4 separate regions of the Homo sapiens genome follow, and all the other regions are linked to region 4. Evidence: promoter capture Hi-C in 16 types of primary human blood cells and fetal thymus (Javierre and others, 2016). All regions are on one chromosome and are shown on one strand. The core of a region is centred on a gene start or on the middle of the fragment in contact, and the rest is flanking DNA. Distances in the headings are between cores, read along the strand shown. Region 1 overlaps CECR2 (CECR2 histone acetyl-lysine reader). Region 2 overlaps CECR2 (CECR2 histone acetyl-lysine reader). Region 3 overlaps CECR2 (CECR2 histone acetyl-lysine reader). Region 4 holds the start of GAB4 (GRB2 associated binding protein family member 4).

The links. Contacts are between HindIII fragments. The CHiCAGO score rates a contact against its expected background, and 5 or more counts as called.
Region 1: a fragment that was not itself captured here is called in contact with the fragment with the promoter of GAB4 in region 4 in 1 of 17 cell types (total CD4 T cells); the score reaches 5.0 in total CD4 T cells.
Region 2: a fragment that was not itself captured here is called in contact with the fragment with the promoter of GAB4 in region 4 in 1 of 17 cell types (M2 macrophages); the score reaches 5.1 in M2 macrophages.
Region 3: a fragment that was not itself captured here is called in contact with the fragment with the promoter of GAB4 in region 4 in 1 of 17 cell types (fetal thymus); the score reaches 5.0 in fetal thymus.

The regions. Positions count from the first base shown.
Region 1 is chr22:17,499,886-17,503,583 of GRCh38, reverse strand. CECR2 (CECR2 histone acetyl-lysine reader) reads right to left here. Exons shown (of 19, transcript NM_001290047.2): 5 at 2,849-2,953; 6 at 453-502. Among named protein-coding and RNA genes, the nearest start is that of SLC25A18, 62 kb to the left of the region's middle. The HindIII fragment of the contact is 2,192 bases long and covers 1,086-3,277 here.
Region 2 is chr22:17,439,479-17,443,464 of GRCh38, reverse strand. The region is part of intron 1 of CECR2 (CECR2 histone acetyl-lysine reader); the gene reads right to left. Among named protein-coding and RNA genes, the nearest start is that of CECR2, 72 kb to the right of the region's middle. The HindIII fragment of the contact is 733 bases long and covers 1,207-1,939 here.
Region 3 is chr22:17,457,526-17,461,404 of GRCh38, reverse strand. The region is part of intron 1 of CECR2 (CECR2 histone acetyl-lysine reader); the gene reads right to left. Among named protein-coding and RNA genes, the nearest start is that of CECR2, 90 kb to the right of the region's middle. RefSeq lists a silencer at 1,217-1,417. The HindIII fragment of the contact is 3,284 bases long and covers 216-3,499 here.
Region 4 is chr22:17,006,011-17,009,993 of GRCh38, reverse strand. It overlaps GAB4 (GRB2 associated binding protein family member 4), which reads left to right and starts at 1,772. Exons shown (of 10, transcript NM_001037814.1): 1 at 1,772-2,053. The coding sequence starts at 1,880. The HindIII fragment of the contact is 7,120 bases long and covers 1-3,983 here.

The DNA.
Region 1 (3,698 bases), core at 932-3,431, 490 kb before region 4:
GTCTTTGCTGAGTCTACCCTGCCTCAACTACACTGTGCAAACTGGTATGTGCCTCCCATTTTTATGTTATTTGGATTACAAAATTAAAATCTAGGTAGGAAACCAGTATGTAGTAAACCTATAAGGAAACCATTGTGTCATGAAGCACTGACATTAAAAAGACCTCTCTTTGAGAAGCTGGTTATTCACTCCAACGTTAAGGTGTCTATTACACTGTCCCCAGTAAACAGGGCACTAGTGAAAAGATCTAGTTCTGATCTTAATCCTTAGTCAGATGATGAGCTGGGCACAGGATAAGGTGTGAGGAGGAGAACTGAAGAAGAGTACAGGGGGTAGGTAAAAGGCTATTGCAATAACCTTTACTTTGTATGACTCTAGAAAAAGAGTCAACACCCTAGCATAAATGAATCATATTTATTTAATTCTTTCTAAATGCCAGTAAAGAACATTACCATGTCTTGTCTGTGGCTCGGATGCCAAGGAATTTTCTTCCTGCTTTTCACTGAAACACAGGAAAAAGAGGTGCCAATTAAAACAAAGACAGGTCCAAAATTGTTCTGTGCCACCCCAGGATGGTAGAACCCATTAATTTAACACAAAGAGAGTGTATGTGTGTGTGTTAAGGGGACAAGGCTTGGAGGCGGAACGCTGAATAAATGAACACTAAGATGCAGGCATGCTGGTCTAGGAGGGAAGTACTGACATACAGCTACCCTATGTTATGGCAACAGTATCAATGCATAAGAAAACAGTAACTTTTATTTTTTATTTTTATTTTTTTGAGACGGAGTCTTGCCCTGTCACTTAGGCTGGAGTGCAATGGCGCGATTTCAGCTCACTGCAACCTCCGCCTCCCAGGTTCAAATGATTCTCCTGCCTCAGCCTCCTGAGTAGCTGGGACTATAGGCACCCGCCACCAGGTGCAGCTAATTTTTGTATTTTTTAGTAGAGACGGGATTTCACCATGTTGGCCAGGCTGGTCTTGAACTCCTGACCTCATGATCTGCCTGCCTTGGCCTCCCAAAGTGTTGGGATTACAGGCGTGAGCCACCGTGCCCAGCCAGAAAACAGTAACTTTTAAAGCTTTTTTTGGAAATCAAACAGATGCACTGTTTTTTTTGTTTGTTTGTTCTTGTTTTTTATCACTGCTCCAGTCAAGAGAGAGATGCAACTGTTAATAATTAAATGCCAAGAAAAAAGAACTGTAGGGATTCCAATGTCCTCCTCCCTGATTCAGGGCCGCACTGAAGACAGGTGTATTTATTATAATTGATCCTTACCTAAGGCAGAGGGTTAAGAGCATGGGCTCCGAAGGGGGAATGCCTCTATTCAAGCTGTGCCACTTACAATGTGACCTCAGGAAAGTTAATTAACTTTCCCCCAAAATGGAGCTATTAATAGTGCCTACCTCACAGGGACGTTGGAGATTAAATGACAAAATGCAAAGTGTATAACGCATTAGGATGAAGTATCATTTTCACTTGTATCCCTGAAACAGAAAGGACACTCTGTGGACTTTTCGCTTGTTTTCGATTAAAGTTTCTATGAGAATGAAAATGTTCTATATTGGCATTATCCAATAAACCATGTGGCTGCTGAGCATCTGAAACGTGGCCAGCGTGAACCAGAAACTGAATTTTAAATTTAATGAAAAAATATTTAAATACTGGCTTACACACACAGCTCTAAAGGAAAAAAGTCACCAGTAGAGGGTAGCACAAGTCCATGGATGCTTGTTAAAATGATTCTACAGTCCCAACCCTAAGCTACTGTGATTCTTGATACTTATGGGGAAACGGAGACAGGTATCATGCAGCTTTCTGAATATCGAAGGACGTGTGAAATCCTAACAAACCCGGAAACAGGTGTTGATACATAAAACGTTAAGTAATTACAGGACATTTGTCACAGAAACGGATAAGCAAGAAATAGGCAGCTGCAATCTGAAGCTGAACTTCTGTAAAGTTAAGTGGATGCTGATTGAGTTAAAATCAGGATCTGAGTGATCTACATTCTTTTTTTTTTTGAGATGGAGTATCGCTGTGTCGCCCAGGCTGGAGTGCAGTGGCATAATCTCGGCTCACTGCAAGCTCTGCCTCCCAGGTTCACGTCATTCTCCTGCCTCAGCCTCCCGAGTAGCTGGGACTACAGGCACCCGCCACCACGACTGGCTAATTTTTTGTATTTTTAGTAGAGACGGGGTTTCACCGTGTTAGCCAGGATGGTCTCGATCTCCTGAGTGATCTATATTCTTAATCTGATTTCCCAGAAATATTTCTTAGTGGTTAAAAAGTGACAGGGTGAAATTCAGCCTAACTCAAGCATTTAGATTAAGTAGGAAGGGAAGAAGCCACTTGTCCTGAGTTATCAGAATTTTTAAGAATACAGCCTCACTTCAATAGGCTTAGTGATAGAGCTGATCCTTAAGTAAAAAGTGTATTTACACAGCATAGGTCAGATTTTGAAAAGTCCTATAGCAAGATTCACATGGTGAAATTTCCTAGAAGATAATGACATATAAAAGAAAATCCCCCAAGTATCTTTCTTTGCTAAAATTAAATATAAAATTGAAGAATGAAAAAAACTGTCTTGTTCAATATAATCCTCATTAAGTGCACATCCATCGTCTAGTAAGAGGACTCGCTTAGAGAGGGGAGGTGACTTGCCAGATGTCACACACTAAGGGCTTCCTGACTGTACTGCACATGTGGTAATTTCATAAGGACTCAGTTTCAGGTTGCTATAATAATGTGCTTCCCATGGCACAGGCAAAATAAAGAAAAAGGAATAAATGAATTAAGGTCCCTTCTGCCATGGTCTATGACCACAACTAACAAGATTTTCTTACCTCAACAGAATCTCCTCCTGCAGTTTCTTCCGTTTTGGGGGTCTTCCTCTTCTTTTTCCCGTTTTTCCAGGAATACTTGAGACATTTTTTTGTCCTTCACTTTCCCTAATAAATAATATTAAATAGAAATGTTCTGGCACAGGATTGGCATTGCTACATATGATTTTAAAACAGTATTTCTGGCCATGAGATTACCAAAAAGGATTAAATGTAGCAGTGAAAGGAAAAGGGAACAGCAACTTCCAGTCTTCATTATTAGACTGTGGATCTGAGGAAAACTAACATTTTGCAATACTAAAATGTGCTTAAGATCTAACTAACACCTTCCGAAGAGTAAGCATTCTCCTAGCAGTAAGAAAGCCTAAATAAGAGGTTAGCATTGTTTTGGGATGCTATGGAAATGCGGCCTCTTCCTTACTTAGTAAAGCTTATGTTTCAGGCATCATTTAAATTCCTTCTGTTCTTAAACTGATGGATACTAACGTTCATAAACTACATCATTAAATTCTTTTTTTTTTTTTTTTTTTGATGGAGTCTCGCTCTGTCGCCCAGGCTGGAGTGCAGTGGTGCGATCTCGGCTCACTGCAAGATCAGCCTCCCGGGTTCACACCATTCTCCTGCCTCAGCCTCCCGAGTAGCTGGGACTACAGGTGCCCGCCACCACGCCTGGCTAATTTTTTGTATTTTTAGTAGAGACAGGGTTTCACCGTATTAGCCAGGATGGTCTCGATCTCCTGACCTCGTGATCCGCCCGCCTCGGCCTCCCAGAGTGCTGGGATTACAGGCATGAGCCACTGCGCCTGGCATAAACTACATCATTAATTCTAGTCGAAATAAGGAGATCTCAAGG
Region 2 (3,986 bases), core at 324-2,823, 430 kb before region 4:
CCTTGGCTCCCAGGGAGTCTCTAAGACTCCTGCTGCTTAAAGGGATTCTGCCCTTTTTTCCTTTCTGAATATTCTAAGATTAATTCCACAGATAATAAAACTATGTAAAATATTATTACAATTACCAACAAGTTACAGCCAAACAGAATTTTAATAGAGAAATCGCCCAGAGCAACATTATTGACTGTTAAAACTAAAAACGGGAAACTTACCTTTAAAGCACATCAGCTCTAACTGGATGCCCAACATTCTACCTGCCTTGCTTTCCTGGGCATTATGGATTTAAGGATTTGTAGAATGGCTGCTGAGAAGTTTCGTTTGTCCTTTAAGAAAACGAGCTAGAGGGCAGGAAGAGACGCTCAGAAGCAAACAGTACAAAGAAACACACCAGGACATACCACTGGCAGACTGGACAGCAAGTAAATGGAGCCTGATGAAAGAATAGAAAAAGGTTCCACTATTCCAATAGAAGAAAGGGTTTTCTTCCAAGATAAAGTTTAAAAAATAAAACAACTGCAAATGCAAAATGCCATTAACACCTATGACTCATTCAGTCATGAAGCAAAAATGTGAATGATTCTAGGGAAGCCTGTGAATTACTACTATCATCTAGTGATTGGCCAGGCGCGGTGGCTCACTCCTGTAATCCCAGCACTTTGGGAGGCCGAGGAGGGTGGATCATGAGGTCAGGAGTTCAAGACCAGCCTGGCCAAGATGGTGAAACCCCGTCTCTACTAAAAATACAAAAATTAGCCAGGCGGTGGTGGCGGGCGCCTGTAATCCCAGCTACTCGGGAGGCTGAGGCAGAGAACTGCTTGAATCCGGGAGGTGGAGGCTGCAGTGAGCTGAGACCGCACCACTGCACTCCAGCCTGGGCGACAGAGTGAGATTCCATCTCAAAAAACACAAAACAAACAAAAAAACCTGTGGTGTGATCAAAGCTCACTGCAAGCCTTGAACTCCTGGGCTCCAGTGATCCTCCTGCCTCGGCCTCCCTAGTAGCTAGGACTACAAGATGTGCATCAACTACGCCCAACTAATTTAAAAATATATATGTATTTGTAGAAATGGGGGTCTCGCTATGTTGCTCAGGCTGCTCCAGAACTCCTAGCCTCAAGCTATCCTCTCCCATCTTGGCCTCCTGAAGTTCTGGGATTATAGGTGTGAGCCACCACACCTGGCCTGATCTGCATTTTTTAATAAGCTTCCCTCACCATGGATTCCCATGAGCTCCAAAGTGAATAGTGTTAAGGGGACCAAATTCTGAATTTCACACGGAACTCTTCTAGTATGACATGCTCTTGTTTTGCGGTTTTTTCTGTCTTTCCCACCTTGAATCTTCTTCTGAATTCAAAATAGGTAAAGCTGTTGATAATGTAAACAGCTTCCCAACTTTGTATAATTTCAAAGAGACCAGAGTTTGATTCTAGTAGAAGATGGTCAATGAAAATGAAGTCAACAGGTCTGCCACCCGCTTCCTGCAGAGAAATATGTTCAGAACATCCAAATCCTTTCCTTGTGAGAGACAAAAATTGTAAGACAGAGTATGGTGTGTGATATCACCTCCCTATGGAACTTTATTTTATACTTCAACATGTTCCATGAAATTCTTACAAGGTGAGTTATACATCTTAATCACATTTCTGTAAATTCTGTTTCATAAAGGACTTTAGCCAAACAATTATTTATCATCTTTCTTAATCTTGTTTCCATGTAAAATTCTTCAAACCAGAAATAATCTATCAAGACTGGAAAAACAATCTATTCATAGATCCAGGACTGAGACATCTAGATAACTTATTATCCTCTGGCAATATCCTCAAAAAAGAAGGATTCATTCATTCATTCAAGTAACGGGGGGTGGGGTCCACAGAGTAAGACACAGGGAAAGCATTTAACCCCTAGTCAATCTCCCCCGGCTACTTTTTAAAAGAAAGCTTTCATCACGTTAGAATAAATGACGCACTATTCTATACAAATCATGGTGAGTGATTTAAAATTACCATACTACAATACAAATATTATTTGCTAAACTAAAATAAAATTGAAGGGCTCTGTGTTAAGATTATCAGCCTAGTACAGTATCACAGCTGTGCGTTCCATCATATTCCTCCTATATCTGGCAGCAGGAAAGATCTATCTAGGGCCATCCCAGATTCCCAACAACAACCAGTATACTTGCTCCCTCAACACGCATCATTTTAATGTGTTAATAGGCCAGGCATGGTGGCTCACGCCTGTAATCCCAGCACTTTTGAGAAGCCAAGGCAGGCGGATCACCTGAGGTCAGGAGTTCGAGACCAGCCTGGCCAACATGGTGAAACCCCATCTCTATTAAAAATATAAAAATTAGCCGGGCGTGGTGGCATGCACCTGTAATCCCAACTACTCTGGAGGCTGTGGCAGGACAATCACTTGAACCCGGGTTGTGGTAAGCTGAGATCACTCCACTGCACTCCAGTCTGGGTGACAGAGTGAGACTCCATCCCGCCCCCTGCCCCCTGCCCCTCCCCCCCAAAAACAGTGTTAATAAGACCTGACAGTCAGCTGAATACCCATGAAATTAGAAATATAATCATCAACAGATACAAGGCACTACACTTTCTTGAACATTTGGTTACTAAAAAAAAGTCCCAGAAAACACAGGGGATGTCTGTAATGATTGTATAATCATCATGTTGAGAAAGGAGTGGAGGGGTAGGGATCAGAGGGTGGTAGTCAAATTTCTGTTTCTAATAAATCTGTTCGGAGACTTGAAATCAAGTTTTTCTTGTTTTCTTACATCACTTTGCTATATAATGCTATACAACCTTCCCTCTCATTACTTCAAGTCAGATATCAGATCAATAAATCAATAAAAGTCCCAGCTTCACTTCAAGAGACAGGGAATAGACAGTGTGGGATATCATAATAAGTGTAAGGACAGACCTGAATTCCACTCAAATTTTAGTTCCTTAGTTACTAGTGAGACCTACAGAGAGTCATTTCTCTGAGGCACTTTGTCTTTTCCATAAAGTTTTTATGCCATAACAGACAGAGAAAGAGTTCCATTTTTCAATCAACAAGGCAAAAAAGAGGCCAAGTAATTGGGAATGTAATAAAGGTGAGCCTATTTTACAACATCGAGTGGGAGCTAGGAAGCCCTCTGACAAATCTTTAAGCTGATGGAGCCTGAATGACTAATGACTATTTTAGTTTTTCCTTTTAAAAAATGATGTGAATAAATACAGATACCCCCCACAACACACACACACACAGTTTTATATAAATTCAAAAAACAATCATACTATTCATTCTGGGGGTTGTTTGTATACAATTTTCTTTCCTTTTTTTACTCCCTACTTCAGTAACTCCCCTCATATACAAACAAGTATACTTTTTTTGTTTTTTTTTTCAATGTAATCATATTCATATATACATACATGCAGACACATGCATCAATGTATGGGCGTAGGCCTTTTCTAATAGACTGATACTACCCATGCTTGCCTGCACATTTTCTATCTTGTGCAAATCTCTCCAAGTCAAGTGGTATAGTGTAGGTCCATTTCATTCTATTAAAAGGTGGGCTAATACTCCACGGTACGCAGGTAACATCCTATTCAGCCACCCCGCTAATGACGGGCTTTCACTCTGTTCTCCATTTTAGGCCACACAGAACCACGCTGCAATGACATTCCTTGTCCATTGCACGGCAGTTGTTTTGTACCCATTGATTAAAATTCCAGGACTGGCATTACTGGAGCAATGAGAGTACATATATTTATGTATTTTAAATTTTAATAGGTACTACCAGATTGTTTTTCAAAAAGGCTGATCAGTCTAATTTTTTTGTTAGTAAAGTATGAGTATTCCTTTTCCTTTCCAATACAGATATTACTTAATAATTTTTGCCAGTCAGATCTTTTCAGATATTTTTTTTTGTCATTAAGATTTATTCTTTTGTGACTTGAAACCTACTCATATCCTTTGTCCATTGTTCCACT
Region 3 (3,879 bases), core at 608-3,107, 450 kb before region 4:
TCTTTGAATACTTGAAAGAGAATGGGACTTGAAAAATACTGTCTCACAAACAGAATATTTAAAAGAGGATAAAGGAAATAACTTTCTTAAAAAAAATCACCATTGTTTTAGGAGACTGGTGGGAATCAAACTTAATATCAGTAAGTTGTGTATCAGCAGTTGCTTTGGATAAAAAAGAATAAACTCTGAACCAACAGAGAAAGAGAAGAGAAGCTTTCCTCATATCAGATTGACTAGGACCTACAATAAACAGAACGTCCCATTTCTACAAATAAGAGCTGCTACAGCTGCTGGCAGAGCAGCACGACCGGGGAAACCCATCGCGGTAATGGGTGATTCCCTGATGCTGCGAATTAGGGAAGCAACCACAGGATTGACAGGTCTACAAAGAGACACACAGCACCCCCAAACAGGTCTCCAGGATGGAACTAAAGGCCAGCTAAGACTAAGCCAAACTTGGTTAGTTTTTGTGGGGATGAAACACTGCTGCTAACCCCAGAAGAGACCTAGAAAGGATGAAGTCCTAGGCAAGAAAATAAAGATTTGATATAAACATAAGAGATTTCCTTCCCCTACACCCCAAAAATGAAGTTTCACTTTGTGGGAGAGAAAGCTGTGATGTGAAAAGATAGGCTGCAGCTGTGTAGATAGTGTTTATTAATGTGATTCAACGACTGGGACATAAGGATACCGGGGATGACAGGCACTGGCTAGAGGCAGAGACTCTCCATACAATCTAAGACTTGTCAACCTGAAGGTCTGAACTAAAATGAGAGGGGAAGAGAAAACTGATGGGGCAAGAAACTGAAGCCCCAGAATCAAGACACCTGGGTCACTGGGGAGTACAGGAATCACATGTGAATAACCTTCAATCCCTCTAAAGAATCCAAATCGAGGCTGGGCGCGGTGGCTCACGCCTGCAATCCCTGCACTTTGGGAGGCCGAGACGGGCGGATCACCTGAGGTCAGGAGTTAGTGACCAGCCTGGCCAACATGGCGAAATCCTGTCTCTACTGAAAATAGAAAACTTAGCCGGGCATGGTGGCACGCACCTGTAATCCCAGCTAGTCGGGAGGCTGAGGCGGGAGAATTGCTTGAACCCAGGAGACAGAGGTTGTAGTGAACCAAGATCATGCCATTGTCCTCCATTCTGGGTGACAGAGCAAAACTCTGTCTCAGAAAATTAAATCTAAATTTTTTCCAAAGAAGAAACCTCAGAGAAGACTTCAAAGTTGCAAGTGTATACAGAGAGGTGTCATAGGTGAGGGGCTATCAAAGACACCAAACTGCCTTCTGGGCTGGAAGAGGAAGTTATAAAAATAAAGAAGTCCAGGCATGGTTACACGAATATGTAGTCCCAACTACTCAGAAAGCTGGAGAAAGGAAGAGGAAGAGAAGAAATAGATCAATGGAGTAGAATAAATACCCTGAGAAACACCCGCACAGCACATACTAAGCTGCTACTGGTATAAATACATGTGGCCCTTCATAAACCCAGCTTACAAAGTTACATGCTCAGCTTAAGGAGTTAAAAGGATAAGAGGCTTCTGAAGAATTTGTTTCAAGACAGTTGCTTTAGGTTGCATATTTGGAAAACCCATGTGAAAAGCCAGGTTTCCTGTGTTGAAGATTTTCAAAGAGTGAAGGATGCACAACAGACTTCCATCACAAAGAAGTTCAGGAGTTTGCAAAGTGGCTACAAAGAAGCAACTATAATAATTTTGGCATGTGGCTTTCATTGTTCTCTTTTTCTATTTCTCTGTATTTTTGGTAGTATGAAATTGCATCTTTGGGCAGGTGCTGTGGCTCACACCTGTAATCCCAACACTTTGTGAGGCCGACGCCGGGGGAGTCCCTTGAACTCAGGAGTTCAAGACCAGCCTGGGCAATGTGGTGAAACTCTGTCTTTACAAAAACCAAAAACAAAAAAAAACACACACAAAAAATTGGCTGGGCGTTGTGGCGCTCAACCGTAGTCCCAGCTACTCGGGTGGCTGAGATGGGAGGATAGCTTGAACCCGGGAAGTTGCAGAGGCAGTGAGCTGTGGTCATGCCACTATGCTCTAGGCTGGGACACAGGGCTGGGATGCAGGGCCGGGCAGGGCAAAGGAAAAGAGGAAGAAAGAAAGAAACTGCATCTTTGCTCTGGATCTTTTTTCTAAAATATAAGCCCTAGAATGACCCTGGGGGTCCTTAGGCCCTGAGTATATCACCCTGCAGGTTCTTACTGTAACTGGAATATGCAACGGACAACTAAAATCAATCCTTTGGAATCTAGGCTTCCTTGGTCTGTCCTTGAAATACTTTTGTGTAACTCAATAATCAGAAGGGAGAGAAGTGCTTAGGGTAAGAAGGGATGATTCGCTTTTACTTTTTCCAAGTATAAGTTGCTTTCTTCTCAAACTGATGTAGACAGTAATTCATAATGACTCATTTTCACAAAGCTATAGGTCACTATTATTTAAATGTGCTAACTTCACAATTTTTAAAGCTCCTGAAGTGAGATTTTTTTGCTCCTTTTAAAGGTATTTTAAAACTAAGTACCTAGACTTAGGTTAGACACACAGAGTAATACAAACAGTAAACTCAAGAAACCTGCTCCTTCATAACAAAAAAAGTCAGCAAAGTACTCTCTGTTTTTAAATCAGTGCTTTCCAAGAATATTTGGTAATAATAACCCTGTAGCTTTAATTCTTCCTTGCATGATCCATATGTACCTAAGTGTTTTCTGTTAGATTTTACTATTCATTCTGTTTTAAAAAATAACACTTTTTACTTGGAAATAATTATAGGTTATATAAACACTGTATACGGAAATCCCATGTGATCTTCATCAGAATTTCCCCAATGGTAACATCTTACATAACTATAATATTAAAAAGAAAAAAAAAACTCACAATGGCACCATTTTACCCACCGTATTAAAACTGCACCAGTTTTACATGCAGTCATGTGTGTGTTATGTGGTTCTATGCTTTTTTTTTTTTTTTGGAGACAGAGACTTGCTCTGTCGCCCAGGTTGTAGTGCATTGGTGCAATCTCAGCTCACTGCAACCTCCAACTCTTGGGTTCAAGCAATTCTCTGCCTTAGCCTCTCAAGCAGGTGGGATTACAGGCGCCCGCCACCACACCTGGCTAATTTTTGTATTTTTAGTAGAGATGGGGTTTCACCATCTTGGCCAGGCTGGTCTGGAACTCCTGATCTCGTGATCCACCCGCCTCAGCCTCCCCAAGTGCTGGGATTACAGGTGTAAGCCACTGCACCCGGCCAGTTCTACGCAGTTTTATCATATGTATTGAGTCATGCAGCCACCCCCACAATTAAGATGAAGAACAGTGCTATCACCACAGGGCTCCCTTGTGTTACTTCTTTATAGCTATGTCCACTCTCCTCTCACCTTATCTCTAATCCTTGGCAACCACTAATCTGTTCTCTGTCTCTATAATGTTATTATTTCAATGATGTTATATGTAAATGAAATAATATCATATATAAGCTTTTAAGATTAGCTTTCTTTCACTCAGCACAATTTCCTTGAAATGTCTCCCAGTTTTTGCATGAATCAATACTTCATCTCTTTTTATTGCTGAGGAGTAGTCTATGGAATGGCTGTACCATGCTTTTGTTAAGCATTCACCAACTGAAGGACATCTGGGTTTTTGCAACTTGAGAGGTACAGCAAATAAAATCGCTATGTGTATTCATCTACAGGTTTTTCCTTTGGCATAAATGCCCCAAAAGTGTAACCGCTGGGTCATATGGTAAATGGATGTTTATACTTAACAAATGTTTACTGAGCACTCATGTGCAAGGCAACCGTCTAGCTGTTGGGGATACAGTGGACAAAATGGAGAAAGCTCCCTGCCCTTGGGGAGCTT
Region 4 (3,983 bases), core at 523-3,022:
ACCTACTCTCATCTCAGGGCAGGATCCAACTGGGTACCCTGTGGCCTCGTTGGCTAACTGATTTATACTAAGGTATGTGTCCTTTACAGTGTGAGCTGTGATGGTGAGTTTAGAATTGACTCGCCATGACTGCAGCCTGCAGAGGGAGCCAGCACCTCCAGGAACCCCATTCTTGCCATCAGCAGAGGGTCTATGGCTCCCACCTCATCCAGTGTCTCCCTGAGCACCATGTCTGCCTGACCAGGACCCAGTGGTCCTCCCATGAGGATGCTGCCTAGGGCTCCAACCCAATAGGTCCAAATACACCTCACCAACCTCCCCTCGGGGCTGTCCCCCCATTCCCCACCTCAGGGTCGGGTCACTACTCATATCTCATCCACCCACATGTCTCCTCAGTCTCAAGACTCTGCAATTTCCTCCATGTGGCTCCATCTCCACTTTTCCCACCAGCTCAAGCCAAATCTTATCTCTATGGACATCCCATTGGCCCTCATCAGGTCCCCCATGTCTGCTTGTTCCTGCAATCCATTCTCAAAACATAAAGCATAACATGTCACACAGTTTCACACTCTTCAGCACTTTCCTTTGCTCTGAGGAGAAGCCAGGCACCCACTCACCTGGCCCCACCCAGCACCCCCATCCCCACACACTCTTCCTTGCATCCTCCCTGCTACCTGATGGGGCCCCTGTGCCCCTCTTGTAAGCTGACATGCAGTGCACATTGGGGATGGCTTACTGAAGAGGCCCCTTGTCTGTCCTGTTCTCTAAGACATCTGCAGAGGCAAGAACAGATCCTGTGCATATCAGATGCCCCCAACTGTGCTTTCACACAATGTGTGAACAAAGAAGCAAACCAAGCTCCTCCAGAGGCAGGAGACAAGGACCTCCGGCTTCTTGGTCCCCGTGACACCGGGTCTGGTTGAGGCCAAGCTGCCCTCATCTTTGACCTGTTCTCTCCTTCCCTTCTCTCCCCAGGCAACATGAGAACCTCCAACTGGCCCAGGGAAGGAACTTGTAAAGCCCACCCCAACCAGGATAAGACAGTGGGGCATAAATGGGAGGAGAGGGGTTGGCTGTCAGTGCCACACTCAATGAACACTCACACATGCACACACTGATGCGTGCACACACGTGACATAAGTACACACGGTGACATCCCAATACATTCACAAACATACACAACACAAACAGGCCCAAACCCTCACTCTGAAACCTAACCCCACCCCCAAACTGCAACCCGGAACTCAAGTCCTAGCCTGAACCTTGACCCCAAACCCCAACTCAAGTCAGAAGGTAAACCATGGGCCGAATCCCGAACTGGAACTCAAACCCCAGCAGGAACCTGAACTCTTCCATTGTCTTTCCTCATCTGGCGCATGGGACTCAGCACCTGAGACTCTGTTGTGGCCCTCTGAATGAGCTGCGCCCCTCGTTCTTGTCCTCTCCACCAGCTGCGCTCCCTGTCCCTCTTCTCCCAAGGAGCCACCCGGCCCATGTCCCCCGCCCCGGTGGTCCCGATGAGATGCACCCAGGCTGACCCAGGGTGCAAATCCCCACCCCAATCCCCAACGCAAACCCTGAACGAGAGGCCTCGTCTAAACTTTAATCCCAAACTCCACCTCAAATTGGAACCGGAACCACAGATGGAAGCCTGAACCGGAACTCAAAGCCCAGCTGGAACCTGAACCCCGCCCTCGCCTGTGAGCACCTGCGCCCGGGTCTCGCCCTCCCCACGAGCTTCACCTCTGACCCCGACCTCCCCTAGAACTGCGCTTTCTACCCCGCAGTCCCAGGGTATCGCAAGCCGTCCCTCACACCCCACCTCCAGCAACGCCCTCTCGCCCTGTCTCCCCCACCTTCACTGTGAGCTGCAGCCCCCATGTCCCTGCCGTCCCCCTCACCCTCCCGGGAGCTGTGCCCACCTGACCCGGCATTTGCGCCTTTGTCTTCGTGGCCCGGAAGTGGCCCCGCCGGCGGAAGCACGAGAAGTGGCCACGTGCTGTACAGCGGCTGGCTGAGGAAGTCGCCCCCCGAGAAGAAGCTGAGGCTCTTTGTGAGTGGGGCAGTGGGGGCGGTACCAGGAGCGCCACGGAGGGTCTGGGGACTCCGGGAGGGGCGTGGGGGAGGCGGCCTGGGTCCACGGGAGGAGCTGCGGGTGGAGGCGACTTCTCCACGTCTGCATGCGAAGGCGACTCCCCGCCAGTGAGAGACAGGGTCCAGGTTTGTGTGGGTTGCGTTCCGAGACCCAGGGAGTTGATTCCAGGGCTGGGGACCCTATTACCTTGAGCGCCGTGGGCCTGCAGGTCGGAGAGTGGGCGGGAAAGGGGACACAGCAGGCTCCGCAGCCTCGCAAAACGGCAGGAACCTCGCACCCGCTCCCCTTCCCTCCCAGGCCCTGAGAATGGCGGGCACCTCGCACCCTCTCTCCTTCCCTCCCAGGCCCCAAGGAAGGCAGGCGCCTTAAACCTGCTCACCTTCCCTCCCAAGCCCCGAGAAGGCAGGCACCTCACACCCTCTCCCTTTCCCTCCCGGGCCCCAGGAAAACGCGGGCACCTCGCACCCGCTCGCTCCCCTTCCCTCCTCACCCGCCACTCCCGGGGTCGTTCGCGTCCTTCCATGCCACCACGCCTGCTGAGGGACAGTGTGCACTGCAGTGTAGTTTTCTATATATTAATTCATGTGGTTAAACGATTTAGAAAAAAAGAAGATTGGTTGCCCTTTCCCCTAGTGGCTAATTTGAAGAGTGTTGTTCTAAATTTCAACAATTTTACTGAGGAAGCGGTAATTGTTAGGAGTCACTATGATTATACCAAGGTACATAGAAGAGGCTTTTCTCTCCTGTTCCTTAGCCCCAGGTCCAGCCCTTCAAGAATCTATTCCAGAATAAGCTGATCCTATAGTCATCTTCCCTTTCCTCTGCTTCCCTGAGGTATGGGGTATGATCAATTCTGCGTTCTTGTCTTTCTCCATTTCTTTTTTCAATTTTTTATTATACTTTAAGTTCTGGGATACATGTGCAGAACGTGGAGGTTTGTTACATACATATACACGTGTCATGGTGGTTTGCTGCACCCATCAACCCATCATCTACATTAGGTATTTCTCGTAATGCTATCCCTTCCCTTGCCCCCCAACCCCAATAGGCCACATTGTGTAATGCTCCCGTCCCTGTGCCCATATGTTCTCATTGTTCAGCTGCCACTTATGAGTGAGAACATGGCGGTGTTTGGTTTTCTGTTCCAGTGTAAGTTTGCTGAGAATGATGATTTCCAGCTTCATCCATGTCCCTGTAAAGAACATGAACTCATTCTTTTTTATGGCTGCATAATATTCCATAGTGTATATGTGCCATATTTTCTTTATCCAGTCTATTATTGATGGGCATTTGGGTTGGTTCCAAGTCTTTGCTGTCGTGAATAGTGCTGCAATAAACATACGGGTGCACTTGTCTTTATAGTAGAATGATTTGTAATCCTTTGGGTATATACCCAGTAATGGGATGGCTGGGTCAAATGGTATTTCTAGTTCTTGATCCTTGAGGAGTCGCCACACTGTCTTTGACAATAGTTGAACTAATTTACACTCCAACCAACAGTGTAAAAACATTCCTATTTCTCCACATCTTCTCCAGCATCTGTTGTTTCCTGACTTTTTAATGATGGCCATTCTAACTGGCGTGAGATGGTATCTCGTTGCATTTCTCTAATGACCAGTGATGATGAGCATTTTTTCATGTTTGTTGGCCACATAAATATCTTCTTCTGTTAAGTGTCTGTTCATATCCTTTGCCCACTTCTTGATAGTGTTGTTGTTTTTTTCTTGTAAATTTGTTTAAATTCCTTATACATTCTGGATATTAGCCCTTTGTCAGATGGATAGATTGGAAAAAATTTCTGCCATTCGGTAGGTTGCCTGTTCACGCTGATGATAGTTTCTTTTGCTATGCAGAAGCTCTTTAGTTTAAATAGATCCCATTTGTCAAT